Regions from separate parts of the Homo sapiens genome. Here regions 2 and 3 are each linked to region 1. The links are contacts of gene promoters, found by promoter capture Hi-C in human tissues and cell types (Jung and others, 2019). All regions are on one chromosome and are shown on one strand. Each heading gives the region's core, a stretch centred on a gene start or on the middle of the fragment in contact. The rest is flanking DNA. Distances are from core to core; before and after follow the strand shown.

Region 1 (3,573 bases), core at 536-3,035:
GATGTCCAAAGAGCCAAGGACAACAGATTTGTTCCTCCCGACAATGCCCACTCTTCTCTGTTTTCTTGACAATAAATAACAAAATTCCAACCACTTACATAAGACCAGGAAGGCTAGAAAAATACATTTTGAAGTAAGTGATATTCTACAAACATCCCCAAGGGGAGCATGAACTCTGAGAAAGGACCTCAAACAGGGAAAGCCAACACCCTGAACCAAGGCTTTCTCAGTACAATCTCTTACAAAACCAGAGTGAATTGCCCAAGAATAGCCCCAAGGCTTCTGTGAAATTTGCAAAGGACGTTCCCATCCCTCATCCACATGGGACCCTCTATGTCGCCCGTAGTATGGGGAAACAGCACAGGGACAGTGACAAACGCCTTTGTCTCAGAGCTCACAGCAATGGCAAGGTGGGGCCCAGACATCCGAGACCTGTGCTGCTGCAGTGGAGTGGGGAAGAGAGAGCTGCAGGCAGTGCGGTCCAAGAGGATGCAGGGACCCTCCTGGGCCTGGGAGGTGTTGCATGGAATGTGGCTTTTGCTCTGTGTGCAGTAGGAAATGCTGGAGGGTTTTGAGCAGAGGAGTGGCATGGTGGTCTACCTTACATCTTTTTTTTTTTTTTTTTTTGAGTTGGAGTCTTGCTCTGTTGCCAGGCTAGAGTGCAGTGTAGTGTGATCTCAGCTCACTGCAACCTCTGCCTCCTGGGTTCAAGTGATTCTGCTGCCTCAGCCTCACAAGTAGCTGGGACTACAGGCATGTGCCACCACACCCAGCTAATTTTTTGTATTTTTAGTAGAGACGGGGTTTCACCATGTTGGCCAGGCTGGTCTTGAACTCCTGACCTCATGATACGCCTGCTTCGGCCTCCCAAAGTGCTGGGATTACAGGCATGAGCCACCGCACCCGGCCTACCTTACATCTTAAAATGACTGTTCAGGCTGCTGTGTGGAAGAGATTGTGGGTGGGCACAGTTAAAAGCTGGGAAACCAGCCGGGACCCACTGGCAATAATTCAGATCAAGCTGATGGTGGCTGAGGAGTAGTTGTTATATGTGGTCATGTTCTGGAAGTGTCAGCAGGATCTCCTGACAGATGGGTTGTGGGAGATGGGAAAAGGGGAGGAAAGGGCAGCTCCACCGGCTGGGAGTAGAACAACTAGATGGACTTGGCACCATTTCCTAAGAGTGAGGACAGGGGACTTAAACTGAATTCTCTCTGAATCCCAACCCCAGGGCTCCAAGGTCAACCTGATGCTTTGGCTTCAAGAGTCTGTAATTCTTATCCAGAAAGATAAGATCCATCCATCCAGTTATTCATTCATTTGTAGCATTAACAAACATTCACCAGTACTTACCATGTGGCAAACATGGGAGGCACTGTAGACATGAGGATTAATTAGACTCATACCCTGCCCTCAAGAAACTCATAATTCAGAGGAGATTCAGAGATCAACCATCTCCACTCATCAATTCAGTCGTTTGGTCACTCAACAAACATTCATTAACACTCAATTTCTGACAAGCAAGTATCGTGGTAGGGATTGAAGTGGTTGGTCATGCCCTTAAGAAAGTCCTAACCCAATTGGAGAGCCTGGGGTTAGCCATCCTCACTCAAATGTATTCATTCATTGGTTCACTAAAGAGTCACTAACATCCAGCCTGTGCCAGGGTCTGGGAGAGGACTCCTGTTGGATGACCCAACAATAGACTCTGGTGAGTGTCTCCAAGCAACAAGGCCTCCCTCTGGAGCCCTGGCCTCCTCCCAGGGTTCCACATGTTGCTCTCCCAATGTGAGCAAGCCCTGGTGGCAGCGCCAGGGTCCAGTGCAGCCCCTCCCCACAGCATGCTGGGGGCTAATTCTGATGTCATCTTTCTGCAGAAAACCATTAGACCATCCCTCCAGACTGCCACCCTCAAAGCCGTCTGCCCAGGCCCCATCTGACACTCTTGACATCTGCAGGTCCCAGACCCTATGATGTGTCCACTCTGGAGGCTCCTCATCTTCCTCGGGTTGCTGGCCTTGCCCTTGGCACCACACAAGCAGCCTTGGCCTGGCCTGGCCCAAGCCCACAGAGACAACAAATCCACCCTGGCAAGAAGTAAGCTAAGCCCCGGGCTCTGCCTGCTGCCTACGGGGCTGGGGAGGTGGGAAGGTGCCATCTGGGCTCCACTGCTAACCCGCTGGGTGACTTCAGGTTAGTCACTTTCCCTCTTCTCTTTTTCTTAGACCTCAAGTACAGAAAATTGAGGTTGTGTTGATCATATGCCAATTTCTAGCACATCCTCATTGGCACAAATCACTGCAAGGTCCCCCTTTTGTTTTATTTTCTTATTTTCCCCCTTTATGACTTATTCTCACCCCATATCCCTACTGCCTTGGCAGGCATTGCAGCGTGTTTAATGGATGTACTTAAATATGCCTGTGTCCTTGTATGTACAGTACTTTAATTTACATAAATTGTATTGTACTTTAATTTACATAAATTGTATAGTGTTGGGTTTCACTCAGCACTATGCTGTTGACATCTATGTTGCTTCAGCTGGTGCAGAAAGAGCCATAAGATTCATCCACCTCAGTTTATTTGGCTGCTCCCCTCTGGATGGACATGCAGGTTGTCTCTAACTCTCCATGATTATAAACTACACTGAGATGAACCTCCTTGCAAGTGTCCCTGTTACAGCCTGTGGGAGAATTTCCCTGGGATAAACCCAGAAGGAGAGTGGTTGGGTCCTGGGGTAGAGGTGAACTCAATTTAACCAAAACTGCCAGAATCCTCTCTAGAATGGCTGTGTGGTCTACACGTGCTCCAGTAAGAAATGAGCATACCTGTCTCCCCATGTTCCCCAGCACTGCCGAGTACTGAGCTGTATCAGTCAGCTAGGGCTGTCCTCACAAGACACCACAGACTGGGAATTAAACAACACACATTCATTTTCTCACAGTTCTGGAGGCTGGAAGTCCAAGATCAAGATGCAAATAGGGTTGGTTTCTGGTGAGGCCTGTCTTGCTGGCTTGCAGACGGACACCTTCTCGATGTCTCCATACAGCCTTTTCTCTGTGCATGCAGAGAAAGAGATCTGTTTCTTCTTATAAGGACACCAATCCCATCAGTTTAGGGCCATACCCTAATGACCTCGTTTAACCTTAATTAGCTCTTTAAAGGCCCTATCTCCAAAGACAGTCGCACTGGGGGAGGAGAGGGCACAATTTGATCTATGACACTATTTTTCTACTTTTTTTTTTTTGCCAGTTTGATGTGTAGTTGAGTGATAACTACTTGTTTTAGCTTGACTTTATCTGGTGAGTGGGAAGTTTGAGCATCTTATACTTTTGTTAACCATTTTGACTTTTTTTCTTGGAGACAGAGTCTCACTGTGTCACCCAGGCTGCAGTGCAGTGGCATGATCTTGGCTCACTGCAACGTCCACCTCCCAGGTTCAAGCAATTCTCCTGCCTCAGCCTCCTGAGTAGCTGAGATTACAGGTGCATGCCACCATGCCCGGCTAATTTTTGTATATTTAGTGGCGATGGGGTTTCATCATGTTGGCCAGGCGGTCTCGAACCCCTGACCTCA
Region 2 (3,573 bases), core at 542-3,041, 110 kb before region 1:
TCCCAGGGCAAGATCTTCTGGGAAGGAGCCCAGGACGTGTCTTCCGGGAATGGTGTTCCTGTGAGGCTGGCTGGGCATGGGGAGTTTGTGAATTCCAAAGTGCTCCCGTCAACACTATCAGCCCTCATTTTGCAGATGGACAGATGTAGAAACTGAGGCCCACAAGGCAAGTGAGGGGCAGAGGACAGACTCACAGCTCCTTCTACTCTGCCTCGGGTGCTGTCCCATGTTAACTGGCTGCCCCATGGGGGGCCACTTGGCCCAAATCGCTCCATTTCAGGGTGGGGAGGCACAGTGGGCAGCCTTGTCCTACAGGACCACTTTCCTTCTGGAGTTAGGAGCCCACTGACTCCTGTGTGACCTTGAGCGATATCAACCCACTCTGAGCCTCAGTTTCCCCATCTGTAAAATGAATACAATTTGAGTTCATTTCTAACCTCCCTTCTTGCCCCTGGGTTGTGGAATTCTGCTTTTCCAAGGGTCCAGAAATCTGAGATGCTCACATTCTAGCGTTGGGTCCTGTTTTATCTCTTTGTTCACTCTTGGGTGCCCCACCCCCACCTAAGGCTTCAGAAACACTCCTTCCTCCCCACCCCCCCACCTCCGCTTTTTATAAATTGACAACTAAGCATCTGCTAGCTTTCTGGGACAAGCTTGGATGAGATCTCCACATGTGCAGAAAAAGTCAAACCCATTCATTGTGTTGCTAATTTTATAGCTTTTCTAACCCAAAAAGCTACAGCCTGTGAAGCCGATCTTGCCAGCTTCATTTTATAAGGATAAACTGCCCAAGGCTTCCCAGCTGGTTGGGGCAGAGTTGGGATTAGAACTGAAATCTCTGGACTCCAAGTGAAGAAAGGGGCTGACAGTGTAAAATTAATGAATTAATGAAGCTATCGAGATGGGCCCTAGGCACTGAATTATGCTTTTTTTTCTCTTTTAATGAGGTTTTCTCATTTAATCCTTACCACCGTGTTATGATTTGGGTATTATTATTACACCCATTCTTCCAAATAAGGAAGGTAAGCTCAAGTGACTTGCCCAAGGCAACAGAGCTAGGAAGAGGCACTGCCGGAAAGTGAGTCCATGCCCTCACCCTCTGCAGACTGGAACATCAGGCATGTTACATATAGGGGCTTATGTCTGATTTTTATAACCACCCTATGAGGCAAGGGTTACTCACTCCTGTTTTCAGATGTGGAAACCAAGGCTTAGAGAAGTTAAGGGAGGTAACATATGAAAAGGCTCAAGGCCAGGAGTTTTACGTGATCTACCCACCATCCTCACCGCATCCTTGCAAACTCAGCTCACTGACCCATTTTACAGCTGAGGAAGCTGAGGGTTAGAGAGGTGAAGGAGCCTGCCCAGAGGCCCACGGAGACTGAGCTGGGATGGGAACCTGGGGTGTTGGCTCCAGGGCCATTGGGACTTCTGTGATGCCATGACAGTGCCATCGGGGCCAGGCCACCCTGAAACCTGTGCTCTGTGCCTCCCAGGGGAGGAACTAGGCCTCCCTCAATCCCTGCTTCATAGGGGCCTTGGGCCACCACCCATGCTGGGCCTCAGTCTGCCCATCTGCACAATGTGCAAGTTGATGGGGGGCACCTTAAGGCTGCCGGTGAGAAATTCTGGGGTCTCAGGGGTTCTGACTGCCAGAACCTAGACTCTCCCAGAGCAGGTCTGTGTCTCCACCTTGAGCCAGGGGAGCAGACCCAAGGGGCCCTCTGGAGCTGAGCAAACCCCCTGCCCAGGCTCTGTCCTCCTTCTTCCTCTGCAGATTGGCCTCATGGAGGTGCTGGTGGAGAAGATTTTTGACCTGGCATTCATGCCCGCAATGAACGGTGAGAGCGGGTGCCTGTGCCTCTCTGGGAGCTTGTGGCTTGGGTACTGGGGGATACTGGCTTGTTGGGCATGCTGGATGTGCATCTATCCTACCTCAATAGTATTTCTGAGCACTTCCTTTGAAGCGTGTCGATGAAAGCCTCCAAATCCAAACGTGGCCCCCAAAGTTCCAGCACCTTCCTTATTTGCTTCTTTCTTGTTTGGCTGATTGTTTTATTTTTCTGATTATCTATGAAAATTCCGATTATGTATTAACATTGTGTGTGTGCAAGTTTTAGAAAATATAAAACAATTTAAAAAAAACTCACCTCGCAGAGGCAATGAATCTCAACATCTGAGCATATTTCCTTCTAAACTCTTTTTCTCCATTGTTTTCCCATATGATTGAGATCTTTCCTGACTCATATTTAAACATGTATTTATTTTTAATGATACAGGAACTACAGGAATACATTCTTATTGTGAAAAGTTCCATTGGCGCAGATACAGCTAAAGTTGCTCTTATCGACATCCCCAGCCTCCTTCCTAGCCCAGAATCTGCCCCCCTAGGGAACCACATCAAGTTAGGAGGTTTTCTTGCCCAACTTTATAAACAGAGTAGACTGAGCTTGCTTTGCTCTCTGGGGCGTCTCAGGAATGTTACTGGGAAGGCTGCTTGTTGAACTATGGGGGTCATTGGCTACTCACATACTGGGACTGGGAAACTGCCCAAGCCCTGGGGTCACTGGGCCCCAGACTCTCTCCCACTCCTGCTTCCTGGATGAGAAGACAAGGAGGGCTGGCACATCCCAGCCAATGTCATCAGCTACACCAGCGGGGGTTCTGTTGGAGCCATCTTGATGTCAAACAAACCCTTGTTCTGGGCCCTGTGGTCAGAGGAAGCCGAGTCTCACTGGTGGGGAAAGTGGTGGTTTCTCTGTGAGAGGATGGGGTCAGGGGCTGGGCTGGGCTGACCTGGGAGGGAAGAGACGGAGCGTCTTGCCTGGCTTAATCACTAAGAGTGGTGTGAACTTGGGGGCGAGTCTTTTAATCATACTGAAGTGCAATTCACCATTTTCAAAATGAGAGCTTGGACAAGGTCCATAGTCCCCAAAGTGAGCTCCGTAAAGCAGTCCCACAAAATACCCTGCAAAAAGCGTTCCATGGCCGAGCAAGTTTGGGAAGTGCTGAAGATACTCCTGCAGGGTAGATTCACAATGTCCTTAGCTTTTTGAAAAGTCCTGCTGGAATAGAGAAGTCTGTTAAATTTCACTTAATTTACTTCCCCCATCCACTCTTTCCTACCCCACTTCTTTTTCTCTCTTCCTGCTCTCTTTCTAGAACAGTAATTAGCAGGTTTACTTAGGCTCTGACAATCTGAAAACAAACAGCACATCCCACGGCAGAGTCAATGGCTAGGGCTCCACGTGCACTTTCCATTACTTCACTCGGCAAACATTTGCCATCTCCTCTATGACTGGGCGAAGGGCTGGGTGATGCTGGGGACACAGCTCTTTTCTTTCTTTTTTTTTTTTTTGAGATGGAGTCTCACTCTGTGGCCCAGGCTAGAGTACAGTGGCACGATCTCGGCTCACTGCAACCTCTGCCTCCCAGGTTCAAGAGACTCCCCTGCCTCAGCCTCCCGAGTACCTGGGATTACAGCTGTGCACCACCACACCCAGCTAATTTTTGTATTTTTAGTAGAGATGGGTTTTTGCCATGTTGGCCAGGCTGGTCTCAAACTCCTGACCT
Region 3 (3,573 bases), core at 333-2,832, 83 kb before region 1:
ACACGTACACACACACAAAGCCACATACAGTTACATGCACAGATGCAGTCCACACAGACACACACAGGCACCTGCACAAAAGCACACACAGACACAGACACACACCAGAACATACATGGACTCGCAGTGGCTTCAGGAAGTCACACTCCTCCCAAAGTTGCCAGCCCAGATGACTTATGGCCTCATTCCCCTCAGGGTTCCAGGGCAGGGCCCTGGATGCCCTCCCCACCTCCGTCCTGGTGTCAGCCAGAGTGACTGGTGCTCCAGGAGCCCTGCTCAGGCCTCTCAAGCCTCTGCCCACCCCTGGCCCCGGCCCCCACTTGGCCTGCCTACCTGCAACTTAAGCTTCCCTCTGCTCCTGGATCTTACTCCGGAGGCAGATGCAGGAGTCCCACCGGTCTTGGGTGGCCGGAACCACATCCTAGGTAAGGACCCTGCCCTCCCTGCTCTCAGAGCCCTGGGGAATGCGCAGGTGATGAGGAGGAAAGAGTTGGAGCCCTGGGTCCCAGTCCTGGCTTTGTCACTGACCTGCCAGGGAACCCAAGGGCCTCAATTTCCAGATCTGCAAAATGGGCACCCTCGGTCTTTTGTATATTATGTCTGTCAAACAGCCGATGCCCGACCTGAGGGAGAACCAAAGCCCACTCAGCCAGGGACCCAAACCATGTCAGCTCATGGATGTTTTGTGTTTATTTTGCTCGTCTGTGGTCCTTTTTAAGACAATGCCGTTAATTTTGGGGACAAAATTTCTTGCTCTGATAATCAAAAATAATTATTCCAGCTAGGCACAGTGACTCACGCCTGTAATCCCAGCGCTCTGGGAGGCTGAGGCAGACAGATCACCTGAGGTCAGGAGTTCGAGACCGGCCTGGACAACATGGTGAAACTCTGTGTCTACTAAAAACATAGATTGGACGGGTGTGGTGGTGGGCGACTGTAGTCCTAGATACTCCGGAGGCTGAGGCAGGAGAATTGCTTGAATCTGGGAGGTGGAGATTGCAGTGAACTGAGATTGTTCCACTGCACTCCAGCCCAGAAAACAGTGTGAGACTCCATCTCCAAAATAATAATAATAATAATTTCATCAGCGGCAGAAAATTGTAATCTGTCTAACATGACTAAGAAAAGCTCCTACCTGGGGGCAGGGACATAAGGACTCAAAGAGATGGTGCAGGAGTGCTGTGTACAGGGCCTGGCGCTTAGAAAATGTTGTCGTCATCACTCTATGGGCTCCCCCATTAGCCCCGAAGAGAACAGGGTCCCTGCTTTGCACAACTGCTTTGTGTGCACAGGTCCCAGGTGAGAAGGGAGCACCCTCACTTCCAGAAACGAGTTCATGCCCATACTCTGCAGGGGGGAAGCCGCGTGAGGAGCCATTCACGGGGGTGATGGGTAAGTTGAGTGTTTGCAAACAATAGTTGTTGTCGTTCCATTTCTCTGTCCAATTTCTGAGAAGAGAGAATTTCCGCCTACTTTGTCTGTAGGGTTCTAGAGCAGACATGGAAAGAATGCCATTGGCTGTAAAACACGCCACTCTTTTCTATGTACTAGCAAGAAAAAAAACACACTGTTACCTAAACACGTTGATGGTAAGATGCATTCTGATTTCCAAGAGAGTAAAATGAGAAAAAGATATGTCTTCAAGCCAATGAAACATGGTGTAAAAACCATGACGGGGTCATCAAGGTAATTGATACGACCTCCCAGCCCTTAAGGGGCAAGGAGTGTCCTCCTTCCCACTGTAGTCTTTCTTTTTTTCTTTATTCCATGTTTTTGTTTGTTTGTTTGTTTGTTTGTTTGAGAGACAGAGTCTTGCTCTGTCACCCAGGCTGGAGTGCAGTGTTGCCATCTCGGCTCACGGCAACCTCCGCCTCCTGGGTTCAAGCCATTCTCCTGCCTCAGCTTCCCAAGTAGCTGGGACTACAGATGTGTGCCACCACACCCAGCTAATTTTTGCATTTTTAGTAGAAACGAGGTTTCACCATATGTTGGCCAGCCTGGTCTCGAACTCCTAACCTCAGGTGATCTGCCCACCTCGGCCTCCCAAAGTGCTGGGATTAGAGGCGTGAGCCACCCTGCCCAGCCTATTCCACGTGTTTTAAATGGAGGTTTCAGTTGTATACAGTAAAAGATGCAGTAAGAAAGACAGGTTTTTGCTTATGTGTGCACCCTTGCAACCACCACCCAGATCAAGGGACAGGACTTTCCCAATACCCAGAAAGAGCCCCTTTTTGCCCCACTGCAGTCAGTACCTGCCCCCAGAGGTGACCCCTCTTCTGACCTCTATCTCTGTGGGCAAGTACTGTCTGCTCCTGAAATTCACAGAAAGAGCCATACAGTGTGAGCGATTCTGTAGCTGGCTTCTTTTGTTCAATGTCATGTCTGTGAGATCCCCCTATGTTGTTGCCTGTGTCAGCTTTCTAGCAAATTTATCTGTTTTTCTACATCACACTAAACCCGGTTCAGAATGGGTACAAAAGGGCATAGAGAGGGAAATAATAGACACTGAGGACTCCAAAAGGGGGGAATGGGGAAGGGGAGTGAGGGGGGAAAATTACCTATTGGGTACAATGTTCACTATTAGGGTGATGGGTACATTGGAAGCCTAAACTGCACCATTGCACCATTTGTCTCGAACTCTTGTCCTCAGGTGATCCACCTGCCTCGGCATCCCAAAGTGCTGGGATTACAGGCGTGAGCCACCACACCTGGTCCATTGCACCATTTGTTATGTGCAATATATCCATATAATAAACTGCACAGATAACTCCTACATCTATTTTTAATGAAAAATTAGAAAAAAAATGGAAAAATCTGGTTCAGGAACCCAGGCTTCTCCTCTCTCTTGCCCTCCCTGCTGGGGTGCACTCTGGCAGCAAACAATTCCCCCTGGCCTGTGCGTTGGCTGTGCCCAAGGCTCCCCACTCCGTCTGCAGGGTGGCCTGAGGGGATCCTGCTGGAGCCTCCATCCCTCAGCAACCTGAGGCCTGGACCCTTTCTTTCTAGCATGTGTCACCGCCCTGCATGAGGGCCACACATTCAGAGCTTCATCAGCATCCTTCAAGCGAGAGCTCAGATTTTCCCGTTCCATGTCTGCCCTCCTTATGCCCCACATGGGCAAGATCTGCCCTAGCTTGCTGTTCTCCAATCCCAAGCATGCTGGGCCCACCTTCCTCCTCCACCCATCTCACTCAGTCCTAGGCCTGGGTTTGCTTGAGCTCTCAAACTGGCAGTCCCAGGGATGTGTGCGGGTGTGTGTGTGCACACGAGAGAGACAAAGTGTATTTAAACAATTTTACAATTTTGAATTAGTTTATAGTGTTTTAAAACCAAGAGCTTTAATGCCTCCTCTTGACAAGTTGTTGTTGACTGTGTGCTATGATTCAGGCCCCTTTTCAGAGGCTGGGAATACAGAAGTCAACAAAACAAGGACATGGCCAAAAAGAAACTGACATTTTACAGGTGTTTGCATTAGAATAATAAAAAAAATTCCTGCTTCTCCTAATAATGGAACATTTCATCCAGAATGGGTACACATATCCTACCTGGCAACAGTAAGAATGGATCCCAGAT

Evidence for each region. Contacts are between HindIII fragments. The study calls those that stand out against the background at their distance.
Region 2: a fragment that was not itself captured here is called in contact with the fragment with the promoter of BPIFA3 in region 1 in 3 of the 25 tissues and cell types used here (H1 embryonic stem cells, lymphoblastoid cells and neural progenitor cells).
Region 3: a contact is called between a fragment that was not itself captured here and the fragment with the promoter of BPIFA3 in region 1, in 2 of the 25 tissues and cell types used here (H1 embryonic stem cells and pancreas).

What each region holds. Positions count from the first base shown.
Region 1 is chr20:33,215,567-33,219,139 of GRCh38, forward strand. It overlaps BPIFA3 (BPI fold containing family A member 3), which reads left to right and starts at 1,786. Exons shown (of 7, transcript NM_178466.5): 1 at 1,786-2,097. The coding sequence starts at 1,971. The HindIII fragment of the contact is 14,641 bases long and covers 1-3,573 here.
Region 2 is chr20:33,103,033-33,106,605 of GRCh38, forward strand. It overlaps BPIFB4 (BPI fold containing family B member 4), which reads left to right. Exons shown (of 18, transcript NM_182519.3): 16 at 1,778-1,841. Among named protein-coding and RNA genes, the nearest start is that of BPIFB4, 25 kb to the left of the region's middle. The HindIII fragment of the contact is 8,468 bases long and covers 1-3,573 here.
Region 3 is chr20:33,133,187-33,136,759 of GRCh38, forward strand. No RefSeq gene overlaps it. Among named protein-coding and RNA genes, the nearest start is that of BPIFA2, 33 kb to the right of the region's middle. The HindIII fragment of the contact is 6,794 bases long and covers 1-3,573 here.